Linked DNA regions of Homo sapiens: region 2 is linked to region 1. Evidence: promoter capture Hi-C in human tissues and cell types (Jung and others, 2019). All regions are on one chromosome and are shown on one strand. The core of a region is centred on a gene start or on the middle of the fragment in contact, and the rest is flanking DNA. Distances in the headings are between cores, read along the strand shown.

The links. Contacts are between HindIII fragments. The study calls those that stand out against the background at their distance.
Region 2: a contact is called between a fragment that was not itself captured here and the fragment with the promoter of IMPG1 in region 1, in 2 of the 25 tissues and cell types used here (pancreas and spleen).

The regions. Positions count from the first base shown.
Region 1 is chr6:76,071,350-76,076,535 of GRCh38, reverse strand. IMPG1 (interphotoreceptor matrix proteoglycan 1) reads left to right here and starts at 3,874. Exons shown (of 17, transcript NM_001563.4): 1 at 3,874-4,114. The coding sequence starts at 4,048. The HindIII fragment of the contact is 12,797 bases long and covers 1-5,186 here.
Region 2 is chr6:76,023,806-76,028,985 of GRCh38, reverse strand. IMPG1 (interphotoreceptor matrix proteoglycan 1) reads left to right here. Exons shown (of 17, transcript NM_001563.4): 5 at 3,728-3,792. Among named protein-coding and RNA genes, the nearest start is that of IMPG1, 46 kb to the left of the region's middle. The HindIII fragment of the contact is 4,590 bases long and covers 1-3,552 here.

The sequences.
Region 1 (5,186 bases), core at 2,625-5,124:
GTAGTCACCTTACCTAAGTTTAAGTCAGTAGATGTAATGTGAAGGAAAAGATCAATGTAAACAGTGAACTTTTGATAGGACCCTGCCTTTTCAATGGCTTCTCTTCTGTTCAGTGTCATTAACTTGTCCAGTGAGTATCAGTTACTTTCTCAGCATGTTTTCCCTGTAGAGAGAACATAGTGAGGAGCAGTAGAAAGAACATAGGCTTTGAAAGTAGAGAGATCTTGGGTGGAAAACCTGCTTCAGTTTTATTAGTTGCATAGTTGAATAATGTACTCACCATCTCTAACTCTCAGTTTTCTCATCTGTGAGATGTAAATAAAAATAGTACTTGAGAGCTGGGTGCAGTGGCTCACACTTGTAATCCCAACACTTTGGGAGGCCAAGACAGGAGCATCACTTGAATCCAGGAGTTTGAGGCCACTTTGGGCAACAGAGTGAGACCCCATTTCTACAAAAAAATAAAAAATCTCTAATAAAATTTAATTAAAAAATAGTACTTACCTCATGAGGGTGCTGAGAAAATGTCATACTATGCATATAAAGCACTTAATTGAGAGTTTTATATTTAATAGGAACTCAAAAAATTATGTCTATTTTGATTAACAAAAGGAATCATTTCTTTGTGATATTAACTTATTCATTTTGGTAAACATGATATGGTTTTGCTCTGTGCCTCCACCCAAATCTCATCTTAAATTGTATTCCCCACATTTCAGGGGAGGGACCCAGTGGGAAGTGATCGGATCATGGGGGCAGTTTCCCCCATGCTGTTCTCATGATAGCGAGTGAGTTCTCACAAGATCTGATGGTTTAAAAGTCTGGCATTGCCCCAGTTCCTCTCTCTCTCCTGCCGCCATAAGAAGACAGGTCTTTCTTCCCCTTCCACCATGATTGTAAGTTGTCTGCAACCCCTGAGTCATGCTTTCTGTTAAGCCTGCCTGTTAGTCAAACTTTTTTTCTTCATAAATTACCCAATCTCAGGTAGTTCTTTATAGCAGTGTGAAAATTTACTAATATAAAACTTATTATTTATATCTACTGATTTCAGATGAAGGAATATATCTGCAAAGATACACTGCCTTTTCCACTCTACCTTGTACATTTTAAATGCACCACTGAAATTCTGCCAGAAAATACAGGGGAAAGCCTATCTCTTTAAGAATATACAATTATAGTTGACAGTCAACCACCTTGAAGAAGCAATTCTGGATTAATTAACAGTGACCCAAAATTAAACACAACAGTAATTAGAGAACAACTTGATGGTCCCAGAAAGCATGGTCTTGGGAATAATGAATGCTTATCATTCTTGTTTGCTATCTAAGTGGGAGTTATCAACATTAGTTACCCAGATTTTTCATCAAAAGTAGGAAAAATGCATAAGGTACTGCCATCAAGAGAAACTTTTAAATATTTGTTATTTTAAAACAAATTAAATACTTTTATATTCATATCTATGATAGAGGATACCTTCTTGAACACAAATTAGTCTATCCTATATTTTTCTTTAAGCAACACATTTCATTAAGAAAACTATTAAGAGGAAATTGTTTTCGGAAATTGAAATTGTTGGTTTCTTTCCTAGAGAAAGAAGAAATGTTTCATAACAGGGTTAGAAATGTAAGTATAACATAGAACTATATAGCAAACCAAGAGAGAAGTATTTCTTCAACTAATATGAATGTATTTTAGAAATACTTATGTATAAGTATGTATCTAGTCTATTGCATTCTAATATCATTTTTTCTACATATAATTAGGGAAAAATAGATTCATCTTCCACCTAGTTCATTTCTCATTTTCAAATACATTGTTATAAGCAGGCTTATATACCGATTGATGGTAGTTTTCTTTAAATATTACCAAAATAATCTGTAGTTGAAGGTAAGAGCTAAAAATCCATTCCCTTTGACCACCTCTGAATACCCCAAGAAAATAATATTTAAGGAATTTTTTTAAGTATAAAGCCACAACAAACCACGAGAAAGAAGACAACAGTAATAAAGTTTTAGAATTTCTACAGCTGACATTTTCAATATCTAAATGAATGTTGTTTTCAACCCAGAATTCTATATCCAGCCAAACTATCAAACAAGTATGAGGGCAGATGGAAACCATTTTCAAACATGTAAGATTTTAAATTTACCTACCACAAACTTTCAGTAATGTACTAGAGCAGTTGCTCCGCTAAAACAAGAGATTAAGTTAAGAAAGAAGACAATACAGGATCCAGAAATCACAAGATCCAACACAAGAAAGAGGTTGAAGGAATCCTCAGGATGACTGTGAAGGGCAATCCCCAGATGACTGCTATGAACAATGACAAGAAATTAAATAATACAGACTGGAGAGGGTTAGAAAGCCCTGGGAAAGACAGACTATTTGAAGTGTTTATGTGAAGAGATTTACATATCCAGGGGAATATTTGGGGATAATTTATTATTTTGTATTTAGAAACTAAAAAAAGTTTTTTTTAATGAGACTATGCAAAAAGTATCATAGAAGGATAGTGGTGAAGAGTATAGGCTCTTGGCCAGGTGCGTGGCTCACACCTATAATTCCACCACTTTGAGAGGCCAAGGCTGCTGGATCACTTGAGCCCAGAAGTTCGAGACCAGCCTGGGCAACATGGTGAAACCTCATCTTTACAAAAAATACAAAAAATTATCCAGGTGTGGTGGCATCTGCCTACAGTCCCAGATACTCAGGAGGCTAAGGTGGGAGGATCACCTGACCCCATGGAAGTTGAGGCTGAAATGAGCCAATGAGCCAAGACCACGCCATTGCACTCCAACCTGGGTGACAGAGTGAGACCCCCATCTCAAAAAAAAAAAAAAAAAAAAAAAAGGGTGTAGGCTTTTGAACCAGACTCTTTAGGTTTAAATCCTAGCTCTGCCACATATACTTTATTCTCCTCAAATTTAAAAGAGATAGTATTAACAGTGTTTATATTGTCATATTGAGGAATCTATGGATAATCTATGGACATCTCTAAGAACAATGTCTATCCACAACACAAGAGCTCCATATACAGTAGTAGTTGCAGTGTGTTTCATGACTCAGCAATATGTAGCATGTATAGTCAAAATAATATAAAATCAAATATTCAAAAACTGAAATTACAATAATACTGATGAAGAAAGATGGAAAGATGTTTACAATGAGTAGAAAGGGTATGTGTGGAAGTGAAGTTATTCTCAATATCTATTATTTGATAATACCTAAAAGTGAAAACCTCCAAAATAGTAATAGAGGCATGTTATTTAGAAGTGCAAATGAGACTACTAGAAGAATTAGGTTGATGAAGTAAAAATGGCTCCCCTTTGAAAGAAGGCATGGGTAGAAGAAAGGCACAATTTTTTCTTACAAACTTTGTAGAAAAAAAGTATTTGACCCCTTAAACACAGTGCATACAGATTTTAAACATTAAAACCAGACTTAAATCAAAAAAGCCACCTGTATGTAATTCCAAATCAAAAGCAATTTATAAAGCAGAACATAGAAGAGAATGGAGACAGTTTCGCTATCTGTGGAGACTAATACATATTGGATAACCATATACTTTCAGGGACAGAAATTAAGCTCTTTTAATGGATGTTTCTTGTACATGTCATTTTAGAAAACATCTGACCCTAACTGTCAGCCTTATTCTCTGTTTGGCAGAACTTCCCCTGGCTCTCTGTGTCACTGTAACAGGTGAATAACTAAGAAAAAACTGTGTCTGTAGACACTTGTTTATAATGGCATTCAGGGTCCTGGAGCTAGGCTGACAGATGCTCCTCCAGAAGGTTAATGAGATAAAGGTTCCTCCAGCTGGCCCTTAAGCAGAGATTACACCTGAGGGAAAGACAAGCAGATTATTCCAGAAACAGACACTGCTACATGTTCTTCATAAATTAACACCCTCATAAAGGTAAACCAAGAAGGTTATCCTCAATCATCTGGTATCAATATATAATTATTTTTCACATTTCTGTTACTTTTTAATGAGATTTGAGGTTGTTCTGTGATTGTTATCAGAATTACCAATGCACAAAAGCCAGAATGTATTTGGAAACTAGAAGAGCTATTTTTGTTTTTTGGATTTTTCTCCAAGTTCAAGGAACCAAAGGTAAGTTACTTAAATGTTTACTTTTAAATTGCTTATCTATAAAATCTACCGATAGAAGTGAATATTTAGAACCAACAAGGCTACCAATTGATCTCACGGGCTAGTATATAGTAGGCCTTGAATAAATATTGCTTGATTGATTGAATAATTAACTATCAGAAATGATTTTCACTTGATTTAATATTTACTACATGGTCTTAAGTGCAGTGAAGATTAACAAAATAGGAGAGATGAATGCATCCTATTTGCTGTTCTAAAACATTCATTGAAAATTCTTATTATTAATGTAAATAATATTAGTAGATCTGTGAAACTAACTCCATTTATCCACCGAAATTCAACAAATAAAACCTAAAGATAAAAGTAATGTTTTAAGTCATTTATGGTCAGACAAAAAAAAGTAAGTATTTCTTACCTTCTCACAATGAAATCATGAGTTGCTTTCCCTTAGAAAATAGCAAACATTCTTCATCTTCAGGGTTCATGATGACAACCACTTCAAAATTTGGTTGTTTTTGAAGTTGTACGCATAAAAGAACTAGGCAATGTATGTTCTTATGGCAAATCTGCATCTGAATATGAAATTAAAATAAGCCACAAACAGGATGTTTTAAGAAAAATAATGTGTGTTTTAAAAAAGAAACACACATGTTGGAGAAAGTTTGACTTTTTTATATAAGGATAAGCCTACCTATCATAATATACTCAATCTTTTTAAGACATTTGAAGTCAATAAGGTTAAGAATTTCTTTAAGAATGACATAGCTTCATGATGATAAACATTTTAACTAAAGTATTGGTTTGGAATATCCATGAAAAAGTAAAATTAATAGTCATTGCATGTGTAAGTCACAAAATAACTGTGATTCCATCAGTCATGTTATATGAAACTTCTCAGTGATTGCATTTGGAGGGAGAAAAAAATTTCTGGAAAAGATTTCTTCATGTTTTCACAATAGTGAAAGAAGCAAAATTTATTTACTTTTTCATTAAATTATCAATTATATATAAATATTTACATTTATAAAATCATTTTAATTAGAAATAAATAATGAGATTTTGGTATATTCTG
Region 2 (5,180 bases), core at 8-2,507, 45 kb after region 1:
CAAAAGAAAAATGGATTCTTATTGCACTGATGCAAACAACTATATTGCCGTAAGTTAAGAATACTCACAGATAGTTTCCAAATTCGAAAGGAACCAGGCAGAGAGAAACAAGCATGCTCCAAATTTTCACCCCAGGAGTATACCTTACTTAACTTTTTTTTTTTCTTGAGACGGAGTCTCGCTCTGTCACCCAGGCTGGAGTGCAGTGGCACGATCTTGGCTCACTGCAAGTTCTGCCTCCCAGGTTCAAGCCTCAGCCTCCTGAGTAGCTGGGACTACAGGCACCCACCACCATGCCTGGCTGATTTTTTCTATTTTTTAGTAGAGACGGGGTTTCATCATGTTAGCCAGGATGATCTCAATCTCCTGACCTTGTGATCCACCCGCCTCGGCCTCCCAAAGTGCTGGGATTACAGGCGTGAGCCACCGTGTCCGGCCCTTACTTGTTAAAGGCTATAAATAGTTCAAAATAAGTTTCCTTGACTCTGAAAAATAAAACAAGGATCAGCAGTATTCCAAGAAAAAGTCAAAAGTTGCTTCAGCTTTCTGAGTTCTGTCCATTTAATTAACTCTTGTTTGGTTTGATATTCGTGAGCATTTCAGCTCCTCATGAGTCCTGTACATTTTCCTTTATTCCAATGTTACAATCTCCAAAGTTAACAGAATCATGTATTTGCGAGCACCTGTTAAAGTCCTGCAGCTTATTATAAACTATCTTTTGAAAAGGATGAAAACAAGACAGCAATTGTCTGTGAATAGCAAAACGTCCAGTGTAGTTACAGTTAGGAACACAATTGACAAATTTGGTTATCTCCATGGTTTACAATAACTTAACAACATTAATTATGATTGATAGCATACATTTAGATATTAGAATTTTTGAAATCCCATAGAATTTTGGAACATAGATTAGCATTATTTACCAAGATATGAACTAAAGAAGAGTGAACATGATTTTGACAATCCCAGGTACCTAAATATGTTGAATAATCCTGCTTACCTCTTTTCTGGACATTCTAGGGGCTCTCTGGACTATCCAAAAAGCCAGGTGTCAGGAAGGACAATTTTGAAACTGAAGTTTGATTTTGAGAAGCCTTTTAAATATGTCTAAAGCACTTGATATTATGAAACATAATTCCAGATAGCCATAAATTATTTATTGTGCCAAAATGATGACTCCAAAATCTTAAAGAAGCAAAAACCTTTTATAACCCTTTACAAATTTTGCCAAAGAGCAGATTAGTGCCTGAAGAAAATTTTGTTATGGTTTTATCTCAATGCTCAATTTACGGAAAAAACCATATAATACCTTTTTTTGAATAGTCAATATGTTCACACAAAGAACCTCTTCTGCAAGAGTAATTTCCACAATTCTTCCAGCACTTCTTTGAACCTTCAGCTTTTTTCTATATAATTTAATACAATCCTTTAACCCTAGGCCAAAGTTTACATTTCCATGCCTTCTTATAACCTTTTACTATAAAAACACATTTTACTATTCTTACACCCCTTACATGTAAATCTAATTTCAGTAGTTTCAATTACATGGTATAATGTTAACTCCTAACAATTTTTAACTTTAAGGTAAAACCTGGTAAGTTACTTTAATTGTGTGCTGACTGCAGCCGAGGTTTGCCTTTTTAGTTAAGGGTGTAATTAATTTCATATGTCCCCAGGCCTTACCTATTGTGAAGCCAACAAGACAGACAGTTCTCAAAACCCAAAAAGCAGTTTATAACCTCAAAACACTTAGCAAACCTTGCATCTGACCTGCATAGTTTAGTTCACCTATTTACATTTTAATGACACCTTCATTTTACCAATAATCTTTAAGGCTGTTTTTATTTCTTAAAGAGTAAAGTCACATGCACTGCAAGGTACTACAGCTTTTAACTTCCCTTAAAAAAATTAGATCCAAGTGCTTGTCTTTCTTTAGGCCAAATTAATTACAGCTCTTTGACAGACGTTACACACAGTACACACACAGAGAGGCAGAAGAAAACCTAGTCACTGAATGGGGCTATTTAAGAGACAGATTTAGAAAAACATGCAGATATTGAACCAGAAAGGGCTCATTCCATAAGGCAAAGTCTTGCCACTGGAGTTACAAGCCATGCCCTCAGGATGTATAACAAAATGGAGGCTTGATTTAACAACCAAAACTTTGCAGAGAACACAGTGATAGTTGTTGGGGGTGGGGGTCTGGCCTGCTAAAGGGGAAAAAGAACTTTAAAGGTTAACTGCAGACAGGGTGGAGAAGAGAAAAGAAAAAAAAACATTTAAAAATGCCTGGGGAAGAACCTCTTACTCTTATGCAAGTTCCTCCACCAGGGAGAAAAGTTTAATTACTGTCCGATGGAGCTGAACCCTTTGTCCAGGGAAGCAGAAGGCTGCTGTGGTGATGCATAGCTGGGAACAAGCCAGCCAGCTGTGTGGGACCCTTGGACCATACGTCCCAGCCCCAGCAGGGAGGGGAGAGCAGCGGGGAGCTGCTGCTCACTGCTCCTTTTTTGACCCTGAGAATGGAAGGAAAGGGCCATGAAAAGGCCCAGGAGCAATGGGGTATGGGGGCATGGTTTCCCCCACCCTGAGAAGTCCAAGGATGAAAAGGCTTAGAAGCAACAGCGAGAGGATTTGAGTCCCCATTTCACTCACCACTTCTCGAGCCCCACGTTGGGCGCCAAAAAATGTTGCAGGACTTATCCTTAGTTCAGCTAAAGACAAGGTCCTTGTCTGTCCCACAGCCATGACAATTTAGGCTTGCAGATGGTTTGAAGGGTGAGTAAAGCAGGGTTTTATTGGGTGAAAAGGAAGAAAAGGGGAAAATAGGGACTCTTGCTAGCGCAGAGTCCCTGCTAGAGTGCTTCCCGCACAGAGTCCCTGCTAGAGTGCTTCCCGCATGCAGCTTGAATCCCAGGTTCCACACAGGAAGAGGAGGGGCCAGGCTCCTCCCCACTGCAAACTGCACAAACTTCCCAAGGCTCCATCCCTGAGGGCAGGCCAGTTGGAGTTTTTGGGGGGACCTCCTCCCACCTGGCTCTCTCACCACTACTCCTTTCTAAGTAAAGCTTGTTAGAATGGGCCAATATTATACACAAATAGCTCTACCACCATGACCTTGGATCTGCTCCTAGAATCTCTTCCACATCATCATTCCATGGCACTGAGAACCTACCCCCAACTTCCTGGCTAGTTACCATTACAGACAGTGGCTGTGCCCAGAATACAGATTTAGTAAATTTATATTACCCAGAAATCTATCTCTTTCCCATTACTGTAACCACAAGAGTTACTTTATTAGATAAGCTTAATGACTCTGGATATGCAGGCTTGAGGGTCTGAGATTTTAGCAAGAATATTTCAGTCACAGATCATGTCATCAATTATCTCTGATGTCAAGAACACAGTGTAAGTGGAATGGAACTACAACATTAGACCCCAAAGACCAGCTTTGCCTACCACAGAACCCCAGGACCACAAAAAAAAGGATGCTTACGGAAAACACTGGAGTCAAACATAACCATTTTGGAGAGTTTTTTGCATTTTTCCTCAATGAGAATATATTCAAATATTACTTCTGTAGTTTAAAAATAGGTCAATCTAGTTTTAAAGTATGCTTTTCCTATAACTTTTAGGTTTACTCAGTATAAGAAATTTAAATGTATGTTCTCTACTGTCATCAAGTTCTCTTTCACCACCTCTTCCTTCTTTTCTATTGTACTAATAGAAAAGATGAAATATCTGCAGAGAAGACATTGGGAGAGCCTGGTGAAACCATTGTCATTTCAACAGGTAAGCTTAGATCTAATTTCTTTGCTTCTCAACTTTCATTCAAATCATCATGATAGCATGTTATTTATAAAACAATTCCTAATTAAAGATAATGTTTATAATGTACTTTCTCAAAACTAGCTTATATTTCTAACTTTATAACATAATTTAAATTTATTGCATACAACTTGGAAAATACAGAAAAGAATAAAGGTAAAACCAAACCATTCAATATCTTACAGTTTGGAAACAACCATCATGAACATTTACTGCCTATTTTCTGCCTTCTTTCTTCTATTATATACACATATTACTGAGACCATATTTACTTAGAGTTTGTATCATTTTTTCCACTTAACCTGATGTAAAGGATATTTTATAGTTCACTAAAATTTCTTCAAAGTTATCATTTTAATGACTTGCAACATTCTGTTGCATCCATATGGATGTCATCAACTTAACCATTGCATCATTGTATCTGACATTACAAATAGTGTTTTAATTAAGATATTTAAACATAAATCTTTGTCAAATCACTAATTTCTCAAAATAGATTACTAAGTCAAACACTATGGATTTTAAGGCTTTTAATAAATTTTGCCAAATTTTTTTTCCAGAAATTTTGTTACAATTTAAATATCCCACTGGCAGAAAAGACAAGAACCTGTCTCATTGCAGCACTTATCAATATTGAATATTACTATTTATTCTAGAGTTTGCCAAAAGGCAGAGGAAAATCATTTCTCCTGTGTTTATTAGATGTTTGAAATTTCTCTTTCATGTATATTTCTATTGCAGTCTTCCCATTTTCACATAAAAGAATACTTTTAAATATACACAATAAAACTATTCTCTGGGCAATGTGTTCCCCAGTTCATTTGATTTTTGGTAATGTGAATAATGTTTTAAGAAATTAATTTTTCATGACTTAAAATGTAGAAATTGAGAAAATAGATATTTGTAAATAAATGATATTACTTTCCCATTTCTTCCTTTACTGACATTCAGAGAAAGCCGGCTGTGCCTATATTTCAATTTTCTCCTAAGTTCAGCTAATTTATCATTTCTGGACTGACTTGTAGCTAATAATAGGACAAGCCTAGTTGAATTTTAATTATAAAATGACAGTAAAATGCATTTTTAACAATAAAAAGAAGAGCTACATAGTTAATTCCCCCATATAAACAGCTCAAATTTGACCTGTGACACCTAATATCAAGTCTTATTCAAAAAGGTATTATTTAGAGGAGGAGCATATAAACATGTAAAAAGACGTTTTGTACTGACTTCATTTTAATATGGGAAAACAAAATTAATAAGAGAATTGAAATTTGTATTTCTACTTTAAACTTGAAGGTAATGTACTTTAGCTGATAGAAACTTTTGTAATAACAAGATTAGATTTAGTA